Linked DNA regions of Homo sapiens: region 1 is linked to region 2. The links are contacts of gene promoters, found by promoter capture Hi-C in blood cells and fetal thymus (Javierre and others, 2016). All regions are on one chromosome and are shown on one strand. Each heading gives the region's core, a stretch centred on a gene start or on the middle of the fragment in contact. The rest is flanking DNA. Distances are from core to core; before and after follow the strand shown. Region 1 overlaps LOC105373960 (a long non-coding RNA gene). Region 2 holds the start of PER2 (period circadian regulator 2).

What was found. The method cuts DNA at HindIII sites, captures the fragments that hold promoters and counts their contacts. A CHiCAGO score of 5 or more calls a contact.
Region 1: a fragment that was not itself captured here is called in contact with the fragment with the promoter of PER2 in region 2 in 2 of 17 cell types (fetal thymus and neutrophils); the score reaches 6.9 in fetal thymus.

The regions. Positions count from the first base shown.
Region 1 is chr2:237,927,094-237,933,011 of GRCh38, reverse strand. All of the region lies in intron 1 of LOC105373960 (a long non-coding RNA gene), which reads left to right. Among named protein-coding and RNA genes, the nearest start is that of UBE2F-SCLY, 37 kb to the left of the region's middle. The HindIII fragment of the contact is 4,646 bases long and covers 1,439-5,918 here.
Region 2 is chr2:238,286,753-238,293,145 of GRCh38, reverse strand. PER2 (period circadian regulator 2) reads left to right here and starts at 4,536. Exons shown (of 23, transcript NM_022817.3): 1 at 4,536-4,797. It overlaps LOC112268433 (a long non-coding RNA gene), which reads right to left and starts at 5,277. Exons shown (of 3, transcript XR_002959458.2): 1 at 5,249-5,277. RefSeq lists enhancers at 2,973-3,022, 4,097-4,991, 5,076-5,598 and silencers at 3,789-4,058, 4,399-4,548. The HindIII fragment of the contact is 4,985 bases long and covers 1,545-6,393 here.

The DNA.
Region 1 (5,918 bases), core at 2,512-5,011, 360 kb after region 2:
TTTTATTCAGTTCAAAATATTTTCTAATTTTATTTTTGGTTGACTCATGAATTATTTAGAAGTGTGATATCCAGTTTCACATACTTGGGGATTTTCCAGAGATCTTTCTGTTTCTGGTTTATCATTTGATTCCACTGTGGTCAGAAAACATACTTAGTACAGCTTGCATTCTTCAAAAACATTTTTGAGACTTTATGACCTGCATTACAGGGGTGTCGAATCTTTTGGCTTCCCTGGGCCAATTTGGAAGAAGGAGAATTGTCTTGGGCCACACATAAAATACACTAACACTAACAATAGCTGATGAGCTAAAAAAAAATGCAATAAACATATTATTATTATTATTATTATTTTTGAGACAGAGTCTCACTCTGTCACCCAGGCTGGAGTGCAGTGGCATGATTTCAGTTCACTGCAACTCCACCTCCAGGGTTCAAGTGATACTTGTGTCTCAGCCTCCCAAGTAGCTGGGACTACAGGCATGCGCCACCATGCCCAGTTAATTTTTGTGTTTTTAGTAGAGACAGGGTTTCACCATGTTGGCCAGGCTGGTCTCGAACTCCTAACCTCAAGTGGTCCACCCACCGCAGCCTCCCAAAGTGTCTCATAATGTTTTAAGAAAGTTTATGAATTTGCGTTGGGCTACATTCAAAGCTATCTTGGGCCACAAGTGGCCCACAGGCTGCGGATTGGATAAGCTTGGCCTAGAATATGGTCTATCTCTGTAAATGGGTCCAGATACAAGCTCAGCAATTGCTGTTCTAAAATTCTGCACCTTCTATGTTTGTTTGTTTATTTATTTATTTATGTTTTTGAGATAGAGTCTCGCTCTGTTGCCCATGCTGGAGTGCAGTGGCACAATCTTGGCTCACTGCAACCTCTGCCTCCTGGGTTCAAGCGATTCTCCTGTCTCAGCCTCCCGAGTAGCTAGGACTACAGGTGCGTGCCACCACACCTGGCTAATTGTTGTATTTTTAGAAGAGACGGGGTTTCGCCATGTTGGCCAGGCTGGTCTCAAACTCCTGACCTCAGATGGTCTGCCCACCTCAGCCTCCCAAAGTGCTGGGAATACAGCATGAGCCACCGCACCCGGCCGGCACCTTCTACGTTTATTGTTAATTGAAAAACAGTCTTGAGCTGTGCCAAGGATGCCTGGGGATGAATAGAACTGTTTGGAGCATGTGCCTAACCTGTAACTGTGGCACTGCCACTGCAATGCATTGTGGGGGGTGGGCTGCCCCCACTTACATGACAACTGTGACAATCATTGCTCTGGAATAATCAGGATTCTCATTTGAGACTCCAGCTGGCTTTGATATTTCGTTTCTAGAGACTCACCCAGCAGTGTAAGAAAATAAACAAACTCTGAGAGGCTGTGAGTTTTGAATTGCAGAGGGTAAAACCAGAGCCAAAAGTTCCAGAGAAAATATTTCAAGCTTCGGGTGTGTTTGAGGAACTGAGAAGTCACAGAATAGCTGGAAAAGAGGATGTAGTGTAAAGTAAACTCAGCTGCACAGACATATGGTCTGTTGGTGGAACTGGAGTCCGACCAGATAATGATCATCAGCGAGGCAGTGCTCTGAAGAAGCCTCTCATCCACAGGTGGGGGTCCGGGCTGCTGCAAACAGTTGCGCAGGTGTGCGCTGCACAACTCAGGGCCACCGTTAACATCACACATAATGGCACATGGCAAAAGGTCCCATTAGGTACAGCCCTGTGGCTTTACCATGTTAAATGCCTTTCGTCTTTCTGGGCCAGTCACTGTGAATCTGAGTGCCTGTGAGGGCACAAACCCTGCACAGTTCCTCTGCTCCTGGCAGTGTAGCATCCCATAACTCCTCCCCAGGGCCCTGCCAGTGCCAGCTCAAAAATCTCCCTGTGGGAGGGTATGGCAGAAAGACCCTAGGGTTCATGCCCTATATAATCCCTTCCTCTTGAGTGTGAGTGGGACCTGTGACTTGCTTATAACCAGTAGAATATAGCACAGGTGACAGGATGTCACTCCCATGACTGAGTTACTATAGATACCTAGACAAGCCTCCATCTTACCAGCACACATTGGAGATTCTCCTTCCTGGCTTGATGAAATAAGGACCGTGTTATGTTATAAGTTCACCTAACAAAAAACCACTAACAAGGACCTGAGGGGGACCTTCAGTCAGAGGCCAGCAAAAGCCAGGGCCCCTTGGTCACATGCCCCACCCATTCAGTCCACTGGGCTGCACTGAGCTTGTGCACCAGCTCAGCCCGTAGCTGGGCCATGTGTGCCCCAGCCTGCCTGTGTTATAGCTCCTACCCACATTTGGTGGTTCCTGAACTCTTGTCTCATGTCCAGGAAGAATGAGGTTACCCTGACCATCGAAGGATGAGGAGGGCAGATAATAACTGTATTGAGTGATGGAAAAGTTCTCAGTGGAGAGGGGATGCAAGGGTTGTCCTCCACTCTAAGTTGGGTGGTCTCTCCTTCAGTGTGGCTGGGTCTGGGATTTTATAGGCTCAGAATGGGGAGTGTGTGCTGATTGGTTTGTGAGTATGCAAAAAAGGTTAAAACAAAGGCACTGCTCAAAGGTGGGCATGACAGTGTAAAAAACCAATTAGGGTAGGGTAGGTTTCTGTAAAATAGGTGAAGGGTGGGGATCAATCAGAGGAAAGTGCACCAAACGGGAAGACGGGTTCTCAATCTGGTCCGTGGATTTGACTTGTAGCTTGGCTTTCAGGTTTTAAACTGTCTTTGTCTTGGAGGTAGGGTTTCACTGGGGTTCTGCCCCATCTGCCTAGGCATGTGTCTGCCTCCTGCATCTGCAAGAGGAGGATGTGACCCAGCGGACACCTGGTGACAGCCTCATGAGACCCTGCCATCTCAGAGGACATAGCTGGGCCACGCCGGGACTTCTCACCAGCCGGGAAATATGTTACCCAGCGATATAAATGAATGCAGGGGGTCTTGAGAACACAGTCCAGTTGGAAGCAGAAAATAGGTGACTCGTCTTCAGATGGTGAACATGCTATTTGTACTTCAATTGTGTGTTTAGCTGGGGTGGCTTGGGGGTGCTGGTGGAAATTACAGTAGGCAAAGTCCCTGTGGGCCACCCCAGGACCCAGCAACTAGCCCAGCAGCCTGGAGGAGTGGGAGGCATGGCTGGGCCCTGGCCTGGGGAAGGAAGGGGATATTTGCTTGGAACATTCTAGTACAATTAATTGGAATGAAAGTGTTGTCATTTTAAGTTTCTGACAGTTTGGTTAGGTTAGACTTTAAAAATCGTAACGTGGCCGGGCATGGTGGTTCATGCCTATAATCCCAACACTTTTGGGAGGCCAAGGTGGGTGGGTCACTTGAGGCCAAGAGCTTGAGACCAGCCTGGCCAACATGGCAAAACCCTGTCTTTACTAAAAAATACAAAAATTAAAGGCGGGGCGTGGTGGCTCACGCCTGTAATCCCAGCACTTTGGGAGGCCGAGGAGGGCAGATCACGAGGTCAGGAGATCGTGACCATCCTGGCTAACACGGTGAAACCTCGTCTCTACTAAAAAATGGAAAAAAATTAGCTGGGCGTGGTGACAGGCACCTGTAGTCCCAGCTACTTGGGAGGCTGAGGCAGGAGAATGGCATGAACCTGGGAGGCGGAGCTTGCAATGAGCCAAGATAATGCCACTGCACTCCAGCCTGGGCGACAGAGTGAGACTCCGTCTCAAAAAAAAAAAAAAAAAAAAAAAACACACAAAAACAAAAATTAGATGGGCATGGTGGTATGCACCTGTAATTCCAGCTACTCAGAAGGCTGAGGCACAAGAATCACCTGAACCCAGGAGGCAGAGGTTGCAGTGAGCTGAGATTGTGCCAGTGCACTCCAGCCTGGGCAACAGAGGGAGACCCCATCTCAGCAAAAACAACAAAAAAAGAGGATACACAAATTTCCTTCCTAACCAGTACCCCAGTAACTTTCCTCTGAGTCAACCAATGTTGTTTCTCGTTTGACCTGCTAGAAAATTTCAGTGGACAAATTCGATTATTTTTATGTTCCTTTCACCTAACAGAATTTTGTGGGGTTAATTCCACATCAGTATTTACAGATCTGCGCTGTGCTTGTTAGTTCGTGATTGTGTTTTGTACTGGTGGATGCGTGGTTCCCTGCCTCACCCGCCCAGGAAAAAACATTCAAATGATCTTCTAGAAAAAGCCTCGGTTCAAGGTCAAGATGGTCTCAATTCATGCACAGCTGAAGCTATCGACTCTCACTTTCTGTGGTGACAAAGCCAAGTCCCTGTCAATTACACCCCAGAACCTGGAAGGCTCCTGCCGAAACCCACCCGATTGTCCCATAGAACTGATGTTTATAGGCCAGGTGCAATGGCTCACGCCTGTAATCCCAGCATTTTGGGAGGCTGAGGTGGGCTTGAGGCCAGGAGTTCGAGACCAGCCTGGCCAACATGGCGAAACCCCGTCTCTACTAAAAATGCAAAAACTAAAAAAAATTAGCCAGGTGTGGTAGTGTGCGCCTGTAATCCCAGCTACTTGGGAGGCTGAGGCGTGAGAATCACCTGAACCCAGGTTGCAGCGAGCCAAGACGGTGTCACTGCACCCTAGGCTGGGCAACAGAGTGAAACTGTCTCAAAACAAAACAAAACAAATCAAGACTGATGTTTATAGTTTATTTTGAGTAAACATAGAAATTGCGCCTCCCAGTCTTGAAATTTGAGAAAGTTATGTTTGTTTTTTCTGAGCTCCTTTCTCAGGAGACCAAGCAGCTGGCCTCCCAGATAGTATCAAGAAGCTGAAACTCACCAGTCACTGCATTTGGACAATGAGAAGCCAAACCCCTCACCTCTGATGACTGCCTAACTGGCCACCTGCTCCCTGTTAACTGACTCCTCTTCCTTACCCCTCCCTAATTCCTGCTTTCCTGCATGTGGTTACGTTTCTGCTGTACCAACCCCTAACTGTAGTCAGTCGGGATGGATTTGAGACGTATACCCCAAATCCTTGGCTGCAGCACCCAATTAAAGCCTTCTTCCAGGGCAATAATTGTGGTTTCAGTGATGGGCGTGGCAAGCACTAGGACCTAGACCAAATTCCTGGTGTTTTGGTAACACTGCCAGCCATGCCAAAGTCCCAGTTTGCCCAAGAAGACTTGTAGGAGCAGCTTTGAGGGTTTGTAACCCTCAAAGTGGATCTCCCAAAGCACAGAAAGAGGCTGCCCCAGAGCTAGTTCTCTGCCTCCTGGAGAGAGATCCATTGCTACTTGCAAAAGATGGACTGCCCTGCCCTACCTGCCTACTTCCCCTAGCCCCCATCCCGCCCCTTTCCTCTTCCAGCCTCTGGTGGGATCAGGTGTGGGGTGCACACCTGTAACCATGGAATTCCCTGGGGAGAGCCAGAGGTATCAGTGGCTTTGGTCTTCATCCCATGGGTTTCTACTTAGAGCCTGGTGCCATCTTTTAGCTCTGGGGGTTTGGGGTCCTGGTGTTTCTCCTGATCCTTCCTAGGAAGAGCACAGGGTGTTCATAGGTTGTCATAGGCTGAGCCAGGTTGTCATAGGTTGAGCTCTGGTGCAGCTCCAGGGGTGAAGACCCATCATCTTCCTGGTGCCACCTGCCCATTCTAGAACAAAGAATCCATCAAGTATTGATCAGGGTTTCAGCGGCCAGGAGGCTGGACAGCTCCATGTGAACTCCTACCCAGCGTGTTTGGCCTTCTCAAGAAAGAGGGTCATTTTTGCAAAAGTACTTGATCGGTTTTCTCCAGTGCGTCTCTAGAAACTTTGATATTCAAATTACTGTCTTTTGAACCACCTCCACAATCATCTGTGTTGCGTTTGAATTTCAGTGTTGGGTATTTTCATTCTACAACCTACAGGGACACTGACTCACCAAACTGATGGAACAGGGACAGCCACTGTTTTTATCTTTTTAAAATAACA
Region 2 (6,393 bases), core at 3,287-5,786:
AAAAGAAAAGATTAGATGTATTTTGGAGAGGTATTTTTGAAGTAATAACTATTGCCATGGATTAAAAGCCCACTGCACCTATGTATGATGAAAAAAAAAAAGCAAAACAAGGCTGGGAGGGGTGTCTCACATCTGTAATCCCAGCACTTTGGGAGGCCGAGGCGGGCGGATCACGAGGTCAGGAGTTCGAGACCAGCCTGACCAACATGATGAAACCCTGTCTCTGCTGAAAATACAAAAATTAGCTGGGTGTGGTTACGTGCGCCTGTAATCCAAGCTACTCAGGAGGCTGAGGCAGGAGAATCTCTTGAACCCAGGAAGCGGAGGTTGCAGTGAGCCGAGATCATGCCACTGCACTCCAGTCTGGGCGAAAGAGTGAGACTCTGTCTTAAAAAAAAAAAAAAAGAGAAAGAAAAAGAAAAACAAACAAAAATCTTAGCGAATTAGAATATATGGCAATGGACATCTATAAAAAAGAAAAACAAAAATCTTAGCGAATTAGAATATATGGCAATGGACATTTATAAAAAAACAAACATCTAAGGCTCATCATACCTGGTGGTGAAATACTGAACACTTCCTCCCCCAGGGTGGAACGGGCCAAGGATGCCCACTCTCACCATTCTATTCCACATCAAATGCGGGTCCTAGCTTGTGCCACCAGCTCTGTGATCTCTAGGGCATCCTTTGCAAAGGAGCCATTGGGACATGGATGCTTACATTCCAGGCTCCAAGCAAGCTCCTTTCCCCAGGCTCTTCTCCAGGGTGAGGCGAAGAAAGATGGGGACTGCACACCCATCGTGGATGGCTCAATCTTGTGACTTCCTTGGGGAAGACATATGAGAACACGTGTGTGCACATCACACCCACATGTCTCCCCTAAACAAAGAACAGCCTCCCTGGATCTATATTTAGTTTAAAAATCAAAAAGCCTTCTCAGTAGGTAGCTAGCATGATAAAGATGCCTTCTTCTTTTTTTGAAAAGATAGGATCTCAGTCTTGCTCTGTTGCCCAGCCTGGAGTGCAGTGATGCAATCACAGTTCACTGCAACCTCGAACTCCTGGCCTCAAGGGATCCTCCTGCCTCAGCCTCCCAAGTGGCTGGGACCACAGGAACATGCCATCATGCCTGGCTTTCTTGTTTTTTGTAGAGACAGTGTCTCACTATGTTGCCCAGGCTGTTCTCAAACTCCTGGGTTCAAGAAATCCTCCCACCTTGGCCTCCCAAAGAGCTGGAAGATACTTTCTTTATACCGGTCCGCAAACCACCTCATGTCCAGGGACAGGCACCTGCCCTCGGGTCACTAGAGGCAAGTTGTCCTTGTCTCACCCTGAGACCCTGGACACAGGTGCCCGCGCCCTTGAGGTCACCTCTGTGAGCTGGCTGAGGGTCTCCCTGCCAGGAGCTGCCACCATGCCAAGCTGGGGTCAGCCGTAGGTCAGCGCTGGGTTCAAGGGAGGCTGGAGAGTAAGGGTTGGGCATTATCATCTCCAATGTCCCTAGGCCCAAGAAAGGGGCTCCAGCACTAGGGGGCCAGAAAGCTTGACAGTGTCCCCTCCATCTCTTTAGAGAGACTTTGCTGGCCACCACCTCCTCCATTTGCAGAGGGAATTCTCTTCCTAGCCGCCTGTCCTTTGGCCCTCCAGCTAGCCAACCCGCAAACCATGCCACCTACAATGAGAGGAAGCAGTGATCAGCACAGTTGCCTGGTACATAGTAGTTGCTCAGTAAACAATTGGCTGGGTGCATGAGTGAATGAGAGGGCCAGTGAGTGGACTGGCAAGGGCATGGAGGCCTGGGTGCAGAGAGGCCCTACAGGCAGGCCCAGACATAGATGGGTGGGCCAACTTGGGCCAGGCTTACTGGTGGAAACAGGCTGGTGGGAGTGGGTGGAGCAGGGGCCAAGCAGCCTTTAGCTGGGAGGCCAGCTCCTCCCACTGGCAGCATTCCCAAGGTAGGTGGGGACCCTGGCTTACCACTCCACCTCCACCCCCAACTAAAGGACTAGCTGTCTCCTAGCCAGCCTGCCTCCCACAGTGCCAACAGCAATTCCCCTATCCAAGAGCTCTGAGCTCCGTGCTGGAGGTGACAGCTGGCCAGTGTGGGCTGGCTAGGAAAGGGTTCATCCCCCTTCCTTCTCCAATCTGACTGCCCCAATTTGCGCTCTCTCTCTGTCACCATCTTGGTTCAGCAAGAATGGCATCCATGCACTTGGCCTGATTGTAGGAGCTCATCCCCTGAGCGCTGTCCTCTGTTGGAGCTGGGATGGAGGCTTCTGTCCATGGCTGTCCTATTCCCTCAGGACCTACACACCACAACTTAGACAAAATTGCCTCTGAATCTGCCTCCTCCCCCCTTCTACATCACCAACTCCTTACAAGCAGGGATGCAGTGAGATGTATTTTTGCATGCCCCTCAACACTCAGGTGTCAACAAGTATTTGTGGAGTGTACACAAATTTCCAATAATAGGAAAGAAGAAACTGGCTGTGAATCACTGAAAATAGATGAGATTCTGAAGAGTCCTAGAGCCCAAAGCACTTGATAATTTCTAAAAGAATTGATTTCAATATATTTCTACCAGATTTATTGGTGGAAATAAAAAAGGCTACATTTAGGGAGGAAATGTGACATCAGGTAGCAGGCTGAATATGGAGCAAGACCCAGCAAAAGCATGAAGAAGAATCTCGGTAAGGTGTGGATGAGCTGTCTGTTTACTCTTGTTTCCAGAACAATGGAGCTCCCCATTGACGTCAATGGGAGGGAAGAAACAAAAGAGCCTTTGGGTGTGTGCAGGGCGCAGCAGCCGGGCCTGGGTTTGCTTGGCATTTGTGTGTGTATGTGTTAGGGAGAGGGGGCGGGGAGTGTGTCGAGGTGTCAATGTCAGAGGAACAGGAGGAGGGGCCACCTGACTGAGTGTGTGAACAGCATGCAGGCCTCCCGGGGCTTCTGTGGGAAGGGCTGCCCCGATGAACTTGGTATTTGCCCTGGTTTGCATCTGAGAAGTTGCACACACACCTTGTCAAGTAGAAGAGAAGGAGTTATCACACTCAGGAATTCCTGATGTGGGTTCATAACTTTTCCTTCTGTCCCATCCCTGGTCCCCAGGTGAGTCCAGGTAAAGAAGAACAAGAAGAGTAAAGAGAGATGCTGCGGGCTCCAGCTTCTTGGACAGTCTCGCCTTCCCCATGAGAGCCTACACATTCAGAGCCTGCTGCGTGGGAGCCTGAAAGCTCCTTCCTGTCCTGTAAGTCTCAGGCTTCTACCCAGACCCGGGGAAATTGTACTCTTTCTCCTGACACTTTAAATGGAAGTTTAGAGGCTCCACATGCCCCACACAATGCTTACCGAAACAAGGTGATGCAGGGTCCCGCGCTGTCTCCCAGGACAACCTCCTACCCCTGGCTCCTGCGTCTCTACGGCTTGCACCGTTGTAAGGCGTCCCTTTCTCAGGGCCCATCTTACCCGCCTTGGAAGTGCTGCCTTTCTCACGGAGCCTGTGGGGATAGCTCTGGTTAATTTATAGCCCACATCGCCCAATTTAGCATTTGATTAAGTTTCCTTTTTATGAGATAGTCCTTTCTCCCTAGTGATGCGCTTGGGGGCAGGGACAACATCATTTCTTTCTTTTGTACCTCCCCAGAGTAACAATGACTCTATTTCCTGAACCAAAAATTGCAACACGTGGTCTCAAAAATAAGAAAGGTCACTTGGTAGCTGCCGGGACAAGTGTCGACCACAGGCACCTCAGAGGCCCGGGTGGGCGTGCCCCCGGAGCTGCTGCAGGGCGGTGCTGCCACCTTCTCCTGGGCTGCTCCGGGGCCCCGCGATGAATGAGTGAGTGAATGAGTAAATGAATGAATGTGAATGCGTGAATGAAGCATGCCGCGCGGACTTTCCCGCGGCCCTGGCCGCTGGGGGCGCGCCTCTGGCCGGTGGCCGGAGGTGGAGGTCTCCCTCGTCCGGCTTCGGCGCGCCGGGTCTGCCAGGCCGGCCGGAGGTGCGCAGGAGCCCCGCGCCCAGCTCCCCCGCCCGCAATGGTACGCGCCACTCCGCGCTCCCCGAGCTGGCGGGCTTGAGGGCGTAGTGAATGGAAGGCGCCGACGCCGGAAGTGGATGAGACCACTAGGGAGGACGACGGGTAGCACGAACGCGCCGCGTCTCCATTGAGGAACCGACGAGGTGAACATGGAGTTCCATGTGCGTCTTATGTAAAAAGAGCGACGGGCGCGGCCACCAATGGGCGCGCGGCGTTCGTAGGCCCCGCCCCTCATGTATGCAGATGAGACGGAGTCGCGGCCAATGGCGGAGGCCGGGGGCGGGCGCGGCGCGCGCGGTCACGTTTTCCACTATGTGACAGCGGCGACTCGGCCGCGGCGGAGGCGGCGGCGCTGAGGGGATACGTGCAGCTGTGGGCGGCGGCGGCGGGCGCGGGGCCGGGCGGACAGAGCCGCGAGTCGGCGGAGGGACCGGCGGACGGGCTGACGCGGGCGCGGCCGGCGGTAAGTGGCGCGGCGCGGCCCCGCTGCGGCTTACGTAACCGCCGCCGGCGCGCGGGCCTCGGGCAGGTCGGGGTCCCAGCGCCGGCTCGGGCAGCGGAGGCGCCGCCGGAAGTTCCTTGGGCTGCTGGACTCCTCGGCTTGAAACGGCGCCGGCGTGGGGGCGTGTGCCCTTGGCCCTGTCCCAGGTGGAGAGTGGTCGAGCCGCGCGCAGGGTGCGCTCGTTTGAACTGCGGTGACACCGAGGGTTGGGGACTCGAACCCCCGCTTCGCAGCTCAGGAGCCTGAGGTCCGAAAGGTGAGGCAGCGTGTGTAGGGCACCGAGCTACCGAGTGACTGCGCGCGGGCTGCGGTTCCGTGGGCGATTCTCTTTTGGGAACCCTCCCTCCCCTCGCATGGGGAAGGCCAAGGAAACCAAGGGTCAGCGCAGCCGGCCCTGGGATCTGGAGGACCCTCGGGGAGCTGACTGCCTCTTCTGAGGCCACAGGGCTAAGTCCTGGGCTGGGGAAGGGCCATGGAGGGGCGCTGATCTAGGAGCTTTTCCTGGACACCCACGGGTCTCCTGGAATGGGTGATCAGAGGGACAAGGAAGTCCCGGTGCCAAGCCAGGCCTGGGAACCTGAGGGCGGGGAGACCCTCTAATGTTCGCCCCTTTGCCTCCCCTGGACCACCCTGTATTAATTCCCTTTCCCCGGACTGGATAGAAGGGAATGGGGGTGTCCACTCTTTGGTGCAGCAGTCGCGCCTACCTTCTGGGATGTACTTTGGCTGCCAAGTCCCAGACATAGACCAGGGGGTGGGAGGTGGCCTGCTTCCCCCTTCAGGAAGGCCAGGGTAAGGGATGACGAGTTGGTTGCCAGGGTTTCTGTAACCTACACAGAAGGAACCCGTTTGGAAAGCTGATTCATACAGAACAACAGAGCCAGAAGGCACCCTGAAAATCACCCAGAGTAACCCCTCAGCCTGACAGATGAGCAAACTGAGGCCCAGGCCCAGGCTGTCTGCAGGATCTTCCCATCGTCCTGGGGCAGGATGAGCTTCAGAGGTTCAGTGATGGCCTCCACTTGCGTGCTGAATCCTGGGTGGGCTGGAATTTGGGAGGAAGGGCCTTAAGTCCGGGAAATGTGTTAAGAACCCCACACGGTGGCTAAAGCCCCACATGGACGCCTCTCACCTGTATATGGCACAGCAGGACTGCTAGACTTCTTGGCCCACCCTCTACCCCCACCTGGGGCTTCTGGTCCCAGGCTGGGTGTGCCTGAGAAGAAAACAGGACTCTACCTGAAGGCTTTATTTGGAAATTGAGTTTTAAAATACAAGGTGAATTGATTTTTGTGTGCTATATGACTATAATGAAGAAAGGGACTCCGTTTTTTTTGAGTGGAAGCTGTGTGGTGTGCCAGCGCGGGGATGGCACCGTGGGTGTTTGCAGTTATCTGTCACTGTCGCCTTGGTATGATTCATTGGTACAGAACTAACGCAGCCCTGGCTTTCTGTGGAGACTGGAGTGCCAGGTGGGAAGGGGGAGCCCTGTGTCAGCCAGCTGGCTGCTGCTGGCTCCCAGTCTGGGCCTCAGTTTCCTTGTTTGTTTGGAGGGGCTCAGATTGGGCAGTCTCAGAGGTCTACTTTAATTCCCAGGTTTTTGGTTTTCTGTTACCCTACAGATGATTTTTCCCAGGTTTCTCGCAGGAGACAGAGGCTTCTGATATGCTCTTGCCTTTGGGCCAAGTAATGTTCTCCTGTGAGCCACGTCTGCAGTGCTTACAAGGAAAAAGGAAAGATTCCTCTCCTGTGCACTACTTCTCGTACCCACTGAACTTTCTCAAAAATACTGGTAGTCACACTGCTGTTTTTAAGCGATGATGTAACTTCACCAGGACTCGGCAAACCACGG